Regions from separate parts of the Homo sapiens genome. Here region 2 is linked to region 1. Evidence: promoter capture Hi-C in 16 types of primary human blood cells and fetal thymus (Javierre and others, 2016). All regions are on one chromosome and are shown on one strand. The core of a region is centred on a gene start or on the middle of the fragment in contact, and the rest is flanking DNA. Distances in the headings are between cores, read along the strand shown.

What was found. The method cuts DNA at HindIII sites, captures the fragments that hold promoters and counts their contacts. A CHiCAGO score of 5 or more calls a contact.
Region 2: a contact is called between the fragment with the promoter of FPR3 here and the fragment with the promoter of SIGLEC9 in region 1, in 7 of 17 cell types (neutrophils, M2 macrophages, total B cells and 4 more). The highest score is 17.0, in neutrophils.

What each region holds. Positions count from the first base shown.
Region 1 is chr19:51,121,981-51,127,474 of GRCh38, forward strand. SIGLEC9 (sialic acid binding Ig like lectin 9) reads left to right here and starts at 2,926. Exons shown (of 7, transcript NM_014441.3): 1 at 2,926-3,415; 2 at 3,617-3,895; 3 at 4,101-4,148; 4 at 5,050-5,316. The coding sequence starts at 2,995. The HindIII fragment of the contact is 17,590 bases long and covers 1-5,494 here.
Region 2 is chr19:51,790,280-51,796,437 of GRCh38, forward strand. FPR3 (formyl peptide receptor 3) reads left to right here and starts at 4,878. Exons shown (of 2, transcript NM_002030.5): 1 at 4,878-5,052. The HindIII fragment of the contact is 12,110 bases long and covers 1-6,158 here.

The sequences.
Region 1 (5,494 bases), core at 1,676-4,175:
TCCTGTACCCAGTACCAGCCCCACCCCTTCCTGGCCCAGAGTCCCCTGTGACTCCTCGGCACCCTCAGTCTAAGCTCCTCAGCTGGTCATGCCCCAACACCTCCATGTCCCCTTGGAAGACCCCAGATATATGTGCAGGTCTCTTCATCTGCCAGACTGTTTCAGAGCCTTTGCACATCCCTCGTCCTTCACTTGTGATGCCTGTCTGTCTTGCGTCAATATGACCCACTCCCCCTTCCAATCTCAGTTCAGCCTCCTTCCCTCCAGGGTCTGTCAGCTAGCGTGGACTCCGGGATTTGTGTACATAAGAGCATGAGCCGGGCCAGGCTTGGTGGCTCACGCTTGTAATGCCAGCACTTTGGGAGGCTGAGGTGGGCAGATCACGAGGTCAGGAGTTCAAGACCAGCCTGACCAACATGGTGAAATCCCGTCTCTACTAAAAATACAAAAATTAACCTGGCGTGGCGGCACATGCCTGTAATCCCAGCTACTCAGGAGGCTGAGGCAGGAGAATCGCTTGAACGTGGGAGGCGGAGCTTGCAGTGAGCTGAGATCACGGCACTGTACTCTAGCCTGGGTGACAGAGCAAGACTCCATCTCAAAAAAAAAAAAAAAAAGCATGAGTCAAACAGTCATGTGTCTTCTGTCTCATTCCGAATGGGAGGTAAGGGAGAAACCGACCTCTCAGCACCACTCTTCCTGCTTTCTCTGTTTTTTTCGTCCAGCCCCAAAGACCCTGAACAATGGTACACCACTGCCTGTCCTGGAGGGAGAGTCCCTGTGGTCTGTGTGGCTGACAGCACCCCACCTCCCAACCCCGCCCGGCTGAGCTGGTCCTGAGAGGGAAGAACACTGAATTCCTCCCAGCTCTCAGCACCCGGGGGCCTGGAGCTGCCTCAGATAGGGGCTGGGACGGAGGAGCATTGACCTGTTGGGCTCACCACCCACTGCGATTTCAGCACATTTCCCTGAGCCTCTGTGCAGAGTGAGTTGCAGGACAGCTGCTGAGGCAGGCAGCCTAGTCGGGTGTTTGGGCTGTCAGAGGGGTGGAGGCCTGGGAACAGAATCTCACACGCTTCTACCCTTTCCCAGGAAGCCCCTCTGGCTACAGATGTGTGAGTGAAAAGCAGGAGGGCTTCTGGCCCCTGGTTCTCACCTGATCAGGGGGCCATCCTGGGCACTGGCTTCCCCCCAACCCCCATGGCCTCACCTGGAGCTACTACTCCAGGTGAGCAGGCCTGCTCTTTTCTAGGGAAGCCGAAGGATTGTTCCCCGAGTTCCAGGTGGGGCTGAGCTGTCCTGTCCCGCCTGAGTTAGAATTGAAGTGGCCGATGCTAATCTGAGGCCCGTGTTGGCTCTGCAGGTGTGGAGGGCCCCAGGGGAGCAGTGCTGAGAGGCCTGACTGAGCCCCTCCTGCTCAAGACAGAACTCAGATGTGGACACCCAGCCCTGCAGAACAGATGCAGGACAACACTGTCAGCCATGGCTCAGCCCTTCTGACCATTGCAGTTGAGATGCTGCAACTTCCCAGGGAGCGACTGGGCAAACATGGGGGCCTGAGGTATTCACGGCAACGTGCACAGATGATAAAACTACCTAGAAAAGCATGGAGACCATTAGCGTTAAAGTGAGGCTGGGGCTGCTTCAGGAGGAAGTGGGGTGTGGCTGACAGGAAGTGGGGTAACAAAGAGGAGGTGTTGCGGCATCCCCAGTGTTCTGTTTCTCTAAGCATGTTCATATGTGTAAACCGCTGAGATTTTTTCTTGGGGGGAAGACATTTTTATCTATATGGCTTATATTTCTCCCAAAAATATTTCTAGAAAACTGACATCGGTCTAAGGAGGCTCCACCACACAGGATACTCCCAGTTCCTCCCAGCCCAGCCACACAGTTACAAAAAATCTTCTGCTGAATTCAGGTGCATGTTTCTTCTCCCATGAAATCCTGCCCATCGCGGAGGGTGCATGCCCCGGGGCTGGTGTCCTCACTCCACATCTCCTGTTCACCGGGACCCCTGGGAGCAGAGCTTGCAGAAGCAAAGCCCCAGGGCCAGCTGATCCCTCATGTTCTGGAGTAACCAGGGAAGTGTGGCTGAGCGAGACATCGGTGGTGAAGAAACCCTTCGTGGTGCAGTGAGGAAAGGAGAAATATCTTCCCTTTTGAAATCTGCCCCTTTTCTTCCGAATTTCCTCCCTTCCAAGCCCCACAGTACAACAGTCACAGCCTCAGTTTCCCAGACCTCCTGCGAGCCAGGCTCCCCTCTGTGTCCTTGGCGTGTATCAACACATAGAATCCTCACCTCCACAGCCCCATGTCCCTCTGCTCAGTCCTCCTGAGATTGAACCCCTGACCTACGGGAGAGTGACCCCATCCTGCCTGTGCCCCCCAACTGAAGCTCCTGCCGTGGACAGCTCAGACGTCAGGAGCCTCCATGTCTCCCCTCCGCACAGTGACCCCTTGGGGACAGTGTCCAGCTCTGCTGTGTTGACCTCGTTGTGCAGAAAGGGGGTGCCCACCTCGTGCTTGCTTGGGGGGGATGAGAGGCTGCCTGCTCACCCCACCTGCACCCCCATCTCTCATGGCCCCAAGTCCCACCTCTGAGCTACGCAGATATCCACAGCCTCTGACTCAGGGGTCTGGCCAGATGGGACTCATTTTCACCCTGCAGAAAATGTCACCTAAGGGGAAGGGCATTGAGAGGGAGGCAGGAGGTGGGGTGGGCCCTGCATGGGGTGGGAATCTGGGTGAGTCTGTCTCCCGCTCTGGCCTCAGGGACCCAGGAGTGAACATGGGGTGGTGGACGGTGGATCTCCCAGGGCTGACCCGGGCCTGACAGTGTCTGGGTGTAAAGTTCCTCCTCTGAGGAGGTCACTGTTCCGACCTCGCCCCTGTCTTCCTGTAGGGCCTCCTCTAAGTCTTGAGCCCGCAGTTCCTGAGAGAAGAACCCTGAGGAACAGACGTTCCCTCGCGGCCCTGGCACCTCTAACCCCAGACATGCTGCTGCTGCTGCTGCCCCTGCTCTGGGGGAGGGAGAGGGCGGAAGGACAGACAAGTAAACTGCTGACGATGCAGAGTTCCGTGACGGTGCAGGAAGGCCTGTGTGTCCATGTGCCCTGCTCCTTCTCCTACCCCTCGCATGGCTGGATTTACCCTGGCCCAGTAGTTCATGGCTACTGGTTCCGGGAAGGGGCCAATACAGACCAGGATGCTCCAGTGGCCACAAACAACCCAGCTCGGGCAGTGTGGGAGGAGACTCGGGACCGATTCCACCTCCTTGGGGACCCACATACCAAGAATTGCACCCTGAGCATCAGAGATGCCAGAAGAAGTGATGCGGGGAGATACTTCTTTCGTATGGAGAAAGGAAGTATAAAATGGAATTATAAACATCACCGGCTCTCTGTGAATGTGACAGGTAAGGCACAGGCTCCAGGAAAGGCCACAGGGAAAGGTCATGGGGGCGGCAGGGAAAGGCTGGGATGGAGCCCCTGCCCCAGGAGAGGGCTTAGGGTGAAGCGAGTTGGCTCAGGGCAGGAGCTGGACCAGAGCCTGAGCTCCCCCCAGGGCTGCACCATGGATCCTCTGACCTGATCCTGAGTCCCCCTCTCTTCACCAGCCTTGACCCACAGGCCCAACATCCTCATCCCAGGCACCCTGGAGTCCGGCTGCCCCCAGAATCTGACCTGCTCTGTGCCCTGGGCCTGTGAGCAGGGGACACCCCCTATGATCTCCTGGATAGGGACCTCCGTGTCCCCCCTGGACCCCTCCACCACCCGCTCCTCGGTGCTCACCCTCATCCCACAGCCCCAGGACCATGGCACCAGCCTCACCTGTCAGGTGACCTTCCCTGGGGCCAGCGTGACCACGAACAAGACCGTCCATCTCAACGTGTCCTGTGAGTGCTGGGCCGGGACGCCTGGGTCCCTGATGGGGTGAGCGTCAAGCCTGGACACTGGGTGCTGGGTCCCGGAATCTGGGCTGGTGGTGGGGTCAGGAGGACACTGGCTCTGCCTTCCCTGTTTATGCGGCTCCTGGGGACAGACAGGGCCAGTGTCCCCAGCCCTCACAGTGATGCGGGTCTCCATGTCTTTCTGTCCCAGACCCGCCTCAGAACTTGACCATGACTGTCTTCCAAGGAGACGGCACAGGTAGGATGGAGCTCCCTCCCTGGGGCTGGAGGAGCAGGGCCTTCAGGTCAGGATGGGGCTGGCTTATTCCTCAACCTGGACTCACTTTGGCAAACAGGGATGTCCTTGTGGGTGAACTCAGGGCCCCTCTGTATCCTTAGGCCCCAAGGCCACTTGTTCCCATCCTCCCATCACCTCCCTTGGACTCCCCCACACACCCCCCCCTCAGCCTCAAACAAGAAGAGGGTGGCATTCACACAGCAGGACCAGGCTTTGAGGCTCCTTCTCATGTATCTCCTGAATACATCTCCACCCTTATCTGTTTATTTCTGATAGTTCTGATCTAAGTACTTCTGGACAGGTGATAAATGTCCATGGGCAAAAATTCAAATTGCAGAGCAAAGGCTCTCCTCCGATGCCTGCCCCCCTCCCCAGAACCAACCACTGTCCATCCAGGCTGCCCTGAGTCTCGGTTTGTACACCTGGAGGATCTCAGAGGTGGTTTGACGTCCGTAGTGAGACTGTCCGCACCCTCCTCTAGGGCTGTGTGTGAGTCCACTGCATGGATGGACTCTGATTTTGTGGCATCTCCTAATGGAAGATCACGGCACTAATTTCATCCTACGGCAGGATAGAACAATCTTGTATCTACTTCCACAGGAATATCTAAGCCTGTGGGTTAAGTTCCTAAAAGCAAAATGTAGCTACATTATATGTTCTTTCTTATTTTGAAAGATAAGCCCAAACTGTTCTCGATGAAGCGGGGAGAAGTTTACATTCCCAGCAGTGAGTGGTGAAAGTGTGTGTTTCCAGAACTTCAGTCTATGTCTGTGTGTCAGTTGCTGTCATCAGTCTCTTTCTGTATCCTTCCTTTTTCTCCAGATCTATGTATCTCTCTGACCCTCTGTCTCTTTTTCTACAGTATCCACAGTCTTGGGAAATGGCTCATCTCTGTCACTCCCAGAGGGCCAGTCTCTGCGCCTGGTCTGTGCAGTTGATGCAGTTGACAGCAATCCCCCTGCCAGGCTGAGCCTGAGCTGGAGAGGCCTGACCCTGTGCCCCTCACAGCCCTCAAACCCGGGGGTGCTGGAGCTGCCTTGGGTGCACCTGAGGGATGCAGCTGAATTCACCTGCAGAGCTCAGAACCCTCTCGGCTCTCAGCAGGTCTACCTGAACGTCTCCCTGCAGAGTGAGTGCACCAGTATGCTGGGGAGGGGCTGGAGAGGAGAACACACCTCCTCCACCCTTAGTAACTGCTGAGCGTGGACCTTCAGAGAGGAGCTCCGCTCTGGTCTGTGCTCAGCTGTGAGGTCTGGAACTTCCCTGGGACCCACAGCACCACTGTCCTCTTCCTGCCAGGGAAGGGT
Region 2 (6,158 bases), core at 3,628-6,127, 670 kb after region 1:
CTCGGCCCACTGCAAACTCTACCTCCCAGGTTCAAGCAATTCTCTTGCCTCAGCCTCTGAGTAGCTGGGATTACAGGTGTTCACCACCACACCCGGCTCATTTTTGTATTTTTAGTAGAGACAGAGTTTCACTATGTTGGCCAGGCTGGTCTCGATCTCCTGACCTCATGATCCACCTGCCTCGGTCTCCCAAAGTGCTGGGATTACAGGAGTGAGCCACCGTGCCTGGCCTATAATTGCCATTTTTTATGTAACTCTTTTCCTGCATTTTACTATAAGCAATCAAGAGAAGCCATGCCACACCCTCAATGCTTTGCTTAGATGTAACTTCCACCAAACATCTTATTCCATCACTCAGAAGTTCTACCTTCCACAAAGCACAAGGACACAGACACAATTCAGCCAAGTTCTTTGCCACTTTATAATGAGGCTGTCCTTTCCTACAGTTTCCAATAATATTTCTCATTTTCATCTGAGATCTCATCAGAATGACCTACTTCTACATTTCTACCAATACTCTGATCATTATTGCAATCTTCTTCTGAGCCTGTAGCAGAATCACCCTCAACGTTACATTCATGGAAATGTAGAGTTTTTTCTAGCACTCACAAACTCTTCCAGCCTCTCACATTACCCAGTTCCAAAGCCATTTCCACATTTTTAGGTATTTCTAATTATAATACCTCTACTTCTTGGTACAAATTAGTCTTTTAGCCCATTTGACCTGCTATAACAAAATCTATTAGAGTAAGTTATGATCCACATAAATTTATTACTCACAGTACTGGAGGATAGAAAAACCAACATTAAGGCTGGGCACAGTGGCTCATGCCACCATAATCTCAGCAGTTTGGGATCGCTTGAGGCCAGGAGTTTGAGAACAGCCTGGGCAACATGGCAAAATCCCATCTTTAACAGAAAAAAAAAAAAAAATTAGCCAGGCATGGTGGCACATTCCTGTAATCCCAGCTGCTTGAGAGGCTGAGGCACGAGAATCCCTTGAACTCAGGAGGTGGAGGTTGCAGTGAGACGAGATTGCACTGCTGCACTCCAGCCTGGGTGACAAAGCAAGACTTTCTCTCAAAAAAAAAAAGGAAAGAATAAAAAAAGAAAAACCAAGGTTAGGATGCCAACAGATTCCATGTCTGATGAGGGCCCATTACTCATAGACAGCGCCTTCCATATGTCCTCACATGGTGGAAGACAGACAAGCTCCCTCAAGGCTTTCTTACAAAGGCACTAATCCTATTTATGAGGGTGCAACCATCACGCTCTAATCTCCTCCCTATGGTCCCGCCTTTTAATACCATAACCTAGGGGGTTAGGATTTCCCATACAAATCTGGGGAGGGGAGAAACAAACATTCAGACTGTAGCAGATGCAGCAATAGTAACTTTAGGAATGTGGAATTTATAAAGAGCACTCATTCTTCCCCATTCCCCACAGCCATCCAGTCTCCAAGGCTGGTCTACTCAGCCTGGACAATCTGTCTCTAAGCTACGCCTCTTCTTGATCACACTATTCCTGCCCTGGGTAGCTCTTCAAGAACCTTACCTTGATTTCTGGCAACATTCTCCATTCTAATATCTCTGTCTCCAATTAGAAACATTCTCAAAGGCATCCCTTTGCAGGACTACAGAACAATATTTTTCAGAAGCACACACCTGACAAGTCACTGTCCTGCTTAAATGGTTATTCATGTTATTATGAAGAAATTCCAAGTCCTTCTTGTAGCATTCAGGACCCTCCAACAGATGGCTTCTGCCACTTGCTACACACTCAGTGTTTATTGCTGTCTGCCTCACCATCTATGCTCCAATAACCGCAGGTAACCTGCTATTTTTTGACCCTTTCCTGCGTGCTTTCACTCTCCTCTGCCTGGAATGTATTTTTTTTTGCTTCTTTATCTGAGTCTTTAAGATTCATCCCGGATGTTATCTGCATTGCACTTGGAAGTGACCCTGGACCCTGTCAGTCTCAGTTAGTTGTTCCTTTTGGGAAATCTCATAATGAACCAGGCATCTGTCTATCACTATATACCCCCACTCTACTGTGACTGCTTAGGGAAATGGCAGAGGACACCATTGTGCACAAAGGGTGCATAAGACTATGCTTAGTCACAGTAGAGTGACGCTGTCACCTCTTTACCTGGGTAGTCGGCATCTCCAGGGTAAGGCACATGTCTGTTTAAGCTCTATGTCTGCAGGAGCCAGCAAGGGAGCACCTCTTCAGAGGCCTCATGCAATACCCACCACCCTTTATTATACTGATAAGTAAATTCCATTTTAATCAGGTGGCAGGTAGCAATGTGCCACTGTCCTAGGAAAGCAATCATGATTGGCCTAAGCCAATATGAGCAACTTGTCTTTTTTTTTTTTTTTTTTTTTTTTGAGGTAAGGTATTGCTCATTGCCCAGGCTCGAGGGCAGTGGCATCATCATGGCTCACTGCAGCCTCAACTTCCCTGACAAAGCAGTCCTCCCACTTCACCTCCTGAGTAGCTGGAACTACAGGTCCACACCACCACACCCAGCTAATATTTTTTTGGTTTTAGAGATGGGGTCTCACTATGTTGCCCAGGCTGGTCTTGAACTCCTGAGCTCAAGCAATCTTCCTGTCTTGGCCTCCCCAAATTCTGGCATTACAGGCGTGAGCCACTGTCCCTGACCTTTATTTTTATGTATCGGTATTTTTGTTATTTCTTGGCCATTGATTGGTCTAGAGATGGCATGCTCTGGCAATGAAAGACAAGGAGAGGTCCTGAAGAGACTCTGGACAAGGTTTCCCTCTGTAATAAAATGGAAGAGGCATGTGAATGAGTCACATTTTCTGCCTGTCTCATGATTCTGGCTCGGGAGGGCCTGTTGATGCAATGTCCAGAACAGTGGCAGCCATTCTGTGGTCACTTTCAAGAAAGCCCTAGAAGAAAACCAATATGATGATGGAGTGGAAGGGTGACATTAAACTCAATTTTTGTTCAAACTCCAGATCTATCCCCTTCCAAAACTTTTTTTAATAATAAATTTCTCCATGGCTTATGTGCTTCATTGGTTTACTCTACCTTATCACTGAAAACATCCAGTGAATCAGAGAGAAAATAGAAAATAGTTGACTCTTGTTTTGTGGCTCTCCACTGTTTTTCATGGTTCTATTCCTTGGGCTTGAGAACAACATTCTGATGGTGTTTAAAAACTCAGAAAGAGCCCATCTCCTTAGATCAGTAGTCCATAGAGCATCTCCCTAGGGGCAGAAGGTTAGGGGGTTAATCTCGGCAATGGTGTGGAGTGTACAGTGTCTCTCATTTACCTTCCTTACCTCTCTACATGCTCCTAGTTACTGCTTCTCTTTGTAACTCTGAGGTATGAAATACCTCAAAGCATATTTGATTTTGTCACAGATTTCTGGCACAGGGCTCTTAAAACCCTTGGAATTCCCTGAGTGATAGGAGTATTATTTGTTATTCATAAACAGCCCCTTTTGATCATAGCTGAGTTTATGCTAAGGAGATCATGGCCTTAGGATGGGACTGGTCACCAGAAAGACCAAGGGATTAGAGGGTTGGAGCTGTCAGCCCCACCTACTGATCTCCAGGAAGGGGAGGCAGGGACTGGAGATTGAGTTCCATAAAAACTCTTGAACAATGAGATTTGATGAGCTTCCACATTGGTGAACACTCAGGAGTGCTGGGAGAGTGGCTGCCTGAAGAGAGCATGGAAGCTCCATGCACCACCCAACCCCTTCCCTGCCATATACCTGCCATATGCCTCTTTCCAATGGACTATTCCTGAGGTATATTCCTTATATAAAGCAACAGATGCAAACAAAGTGCTTTCCTGAGTTCTGTGTGCCATTCTAGCAATTTATTGGTGTCATTGGAACACCCAATTTATAGCCTGTCAGTCAGAAGTACAAGTAGCCACCTGGGACTTGCAACAGATGTCTGATCTGATCTGAGAACAGTTTGTGGGAGTGAGCCCTTTAGCTTTTCGGATCTGAGCTGAATCCAGGTAGACAGCATCATAACCGAATTTTTAATTGCAGGTGGCCCAGGTGGTGTCCCCAGAGAATTGGAGAATTTCTTGGTGTAGAGAAAAAGTATATTTGGTCAGAAGGATTGTGAAAGTAGAGAATCGAGTTTTTGTTTCACCGTGCATCTTTGTTTTTTTATTGTTTTTCCTCTCATTCTTCTCACCTTGGTAATTGTTTCTTTCATTTTCCTGAATCTCTGAAAAGAAAGGGCCTGGACTCTCAGATTTCTTGGCCTTTGATATTTGGAAGGATGAACTCCAGTCTCCCACAGAAGGCTAGAGGTGAAGGAACATTCAGACACATAAGTTTCCAAGATAAATCGTCTGAGAACATCTCCAAGGTGTCTTCTGGGAATGGTAAGAAACCCTGAGTTTGTGTCACTGGATTGATTCCAGCTCCATTGTCCCCGTGTCCTTCAACTAAGTCTCTGCTGAAGCCTGTTCTATAAAAACAGCAAGTAAGTGGTTTGGACTGACCTATTGTACTAGGTTCGACAAAGCAAACCAAATGGAGTCAGTCATACTAAAACTCCACATCACCAAACCAAAACTAATGTATCTGAACTTTTGAGAAATCAGGAGAGAGAGAAAATGGACAAATTCCTAAAACAGGCCAGTTTCAGTGGGCATGAACATGAAGTTCTGTCTGCTTTCATCTTTACAAAAAAAAAAAAAAAGCAATCTGTGGTAACTTGACTTCAATCAATCAGTTGTTCCTTATTGCTGTCTCTCTATTCCTGCTGCACAAAAAAAATGCAACATCCAGATGACCAATCAGGTTTTTGTTCTCTGTTTCTGCTTTCTTTAGCCCTCCTATCCCTGTAAAACCAACTTCCTTGGCTCTAACTATCAAAACACTCATTTTGTTTTATAGCATGACAGGCTGTCTGATTCCATCTTTATAACCAAAGCCAATTAAGATCTTAAAACCAAACATATAACTTCATCTTTTTACAAGTACTTAGAGCCTGAGTTGCTCCACAGGAATCCAGGAACTGGGCACAGGAAAAGGATCTAAGCTGGTGGTAAGTTGGGGTCTGAAAATTTTAAAGTTATTGTTGAAATGCCTGCTATATGACAGAGCCCTTCTAACTCTGGAGTAGCGTAGTCCAGTGAAGAATCCACTTCGTTAGTATGAAAACAATGTTAACTATTTCATTAACAGTGTTTAATTTGGTTACATGTTCCAGTAACATTCTTTTTTTTTTTTTTTTTTTTTTTTTTTTTGATGGAGTCTTGCGCTGTCACCCAGGCTGGAGTGCAGTGGCACAATCTCAGCCCACTGCAACCTCTGCCTCCCAGGTTCAAGCGATTCTCCTGCCTCAGCCTCCTGAGTAGCTGGGATTACAGGCACCTGCCACCACGCCTGGCTAATTTTTTGTATTTTTAGTAGAGACGGGGTTTCAATATGTTGGCCAGGCTGGTCTTCAACTCCTGACCTCGTGATCTGCCCACCTCGGCCTCCCAAAGTGCTGGGATTACAGGCGTGAGCCAATGTGACTGGCCAATTCTTTATCATATATGTAATTAAATAAAATTTATTACTAAAATAATTTCCCCAAAGGTGTTTTACTTTTTTAAAAACAGTGGCTACAAAAAAATTTTGAGTCCCATATGTAGCTAAAGTTAACACATTATATTTCTACTGGACATGTAGCATTGTAGAGATGTAGCATTGAAGGATCTTGATAGTCCTGTGGAGCTTACGTACTAGTGTGGAGGGTATTTAAGAGAGAAGATAAATGAACAAACAAATAAAGGAGAAAAGTATCTGGTGAGATAGGCTGTACCTGAGCATTCTGCTTTGCAGAGTGGGTGAGGTGGGATCTCTCTGAAATAATATTTGACCTGAAATATGAATATTCAGGATGAGCCAGGTGCAGGAAGCTCAAGACGAAGAGCACGGTAGGCAGAAGGAATAGAGAAAGCAGAAGCCCTGAGATGACAAAGAGCTGCAAGTTCAAGGAATTAGAGCCCAGTGGGTGGAGCCCAGTGTGTCTGATGAGAGTGCAGAGATGAGGTCTGAGGGATGCACAGGGCACATGTGGCAGTGGATAAGGGAACCTAGGATAAGGGAACCTAAGATAAGGGTAACTTAGAAGTCTGGAAGCCATCGGAAGGTATTGCGAAT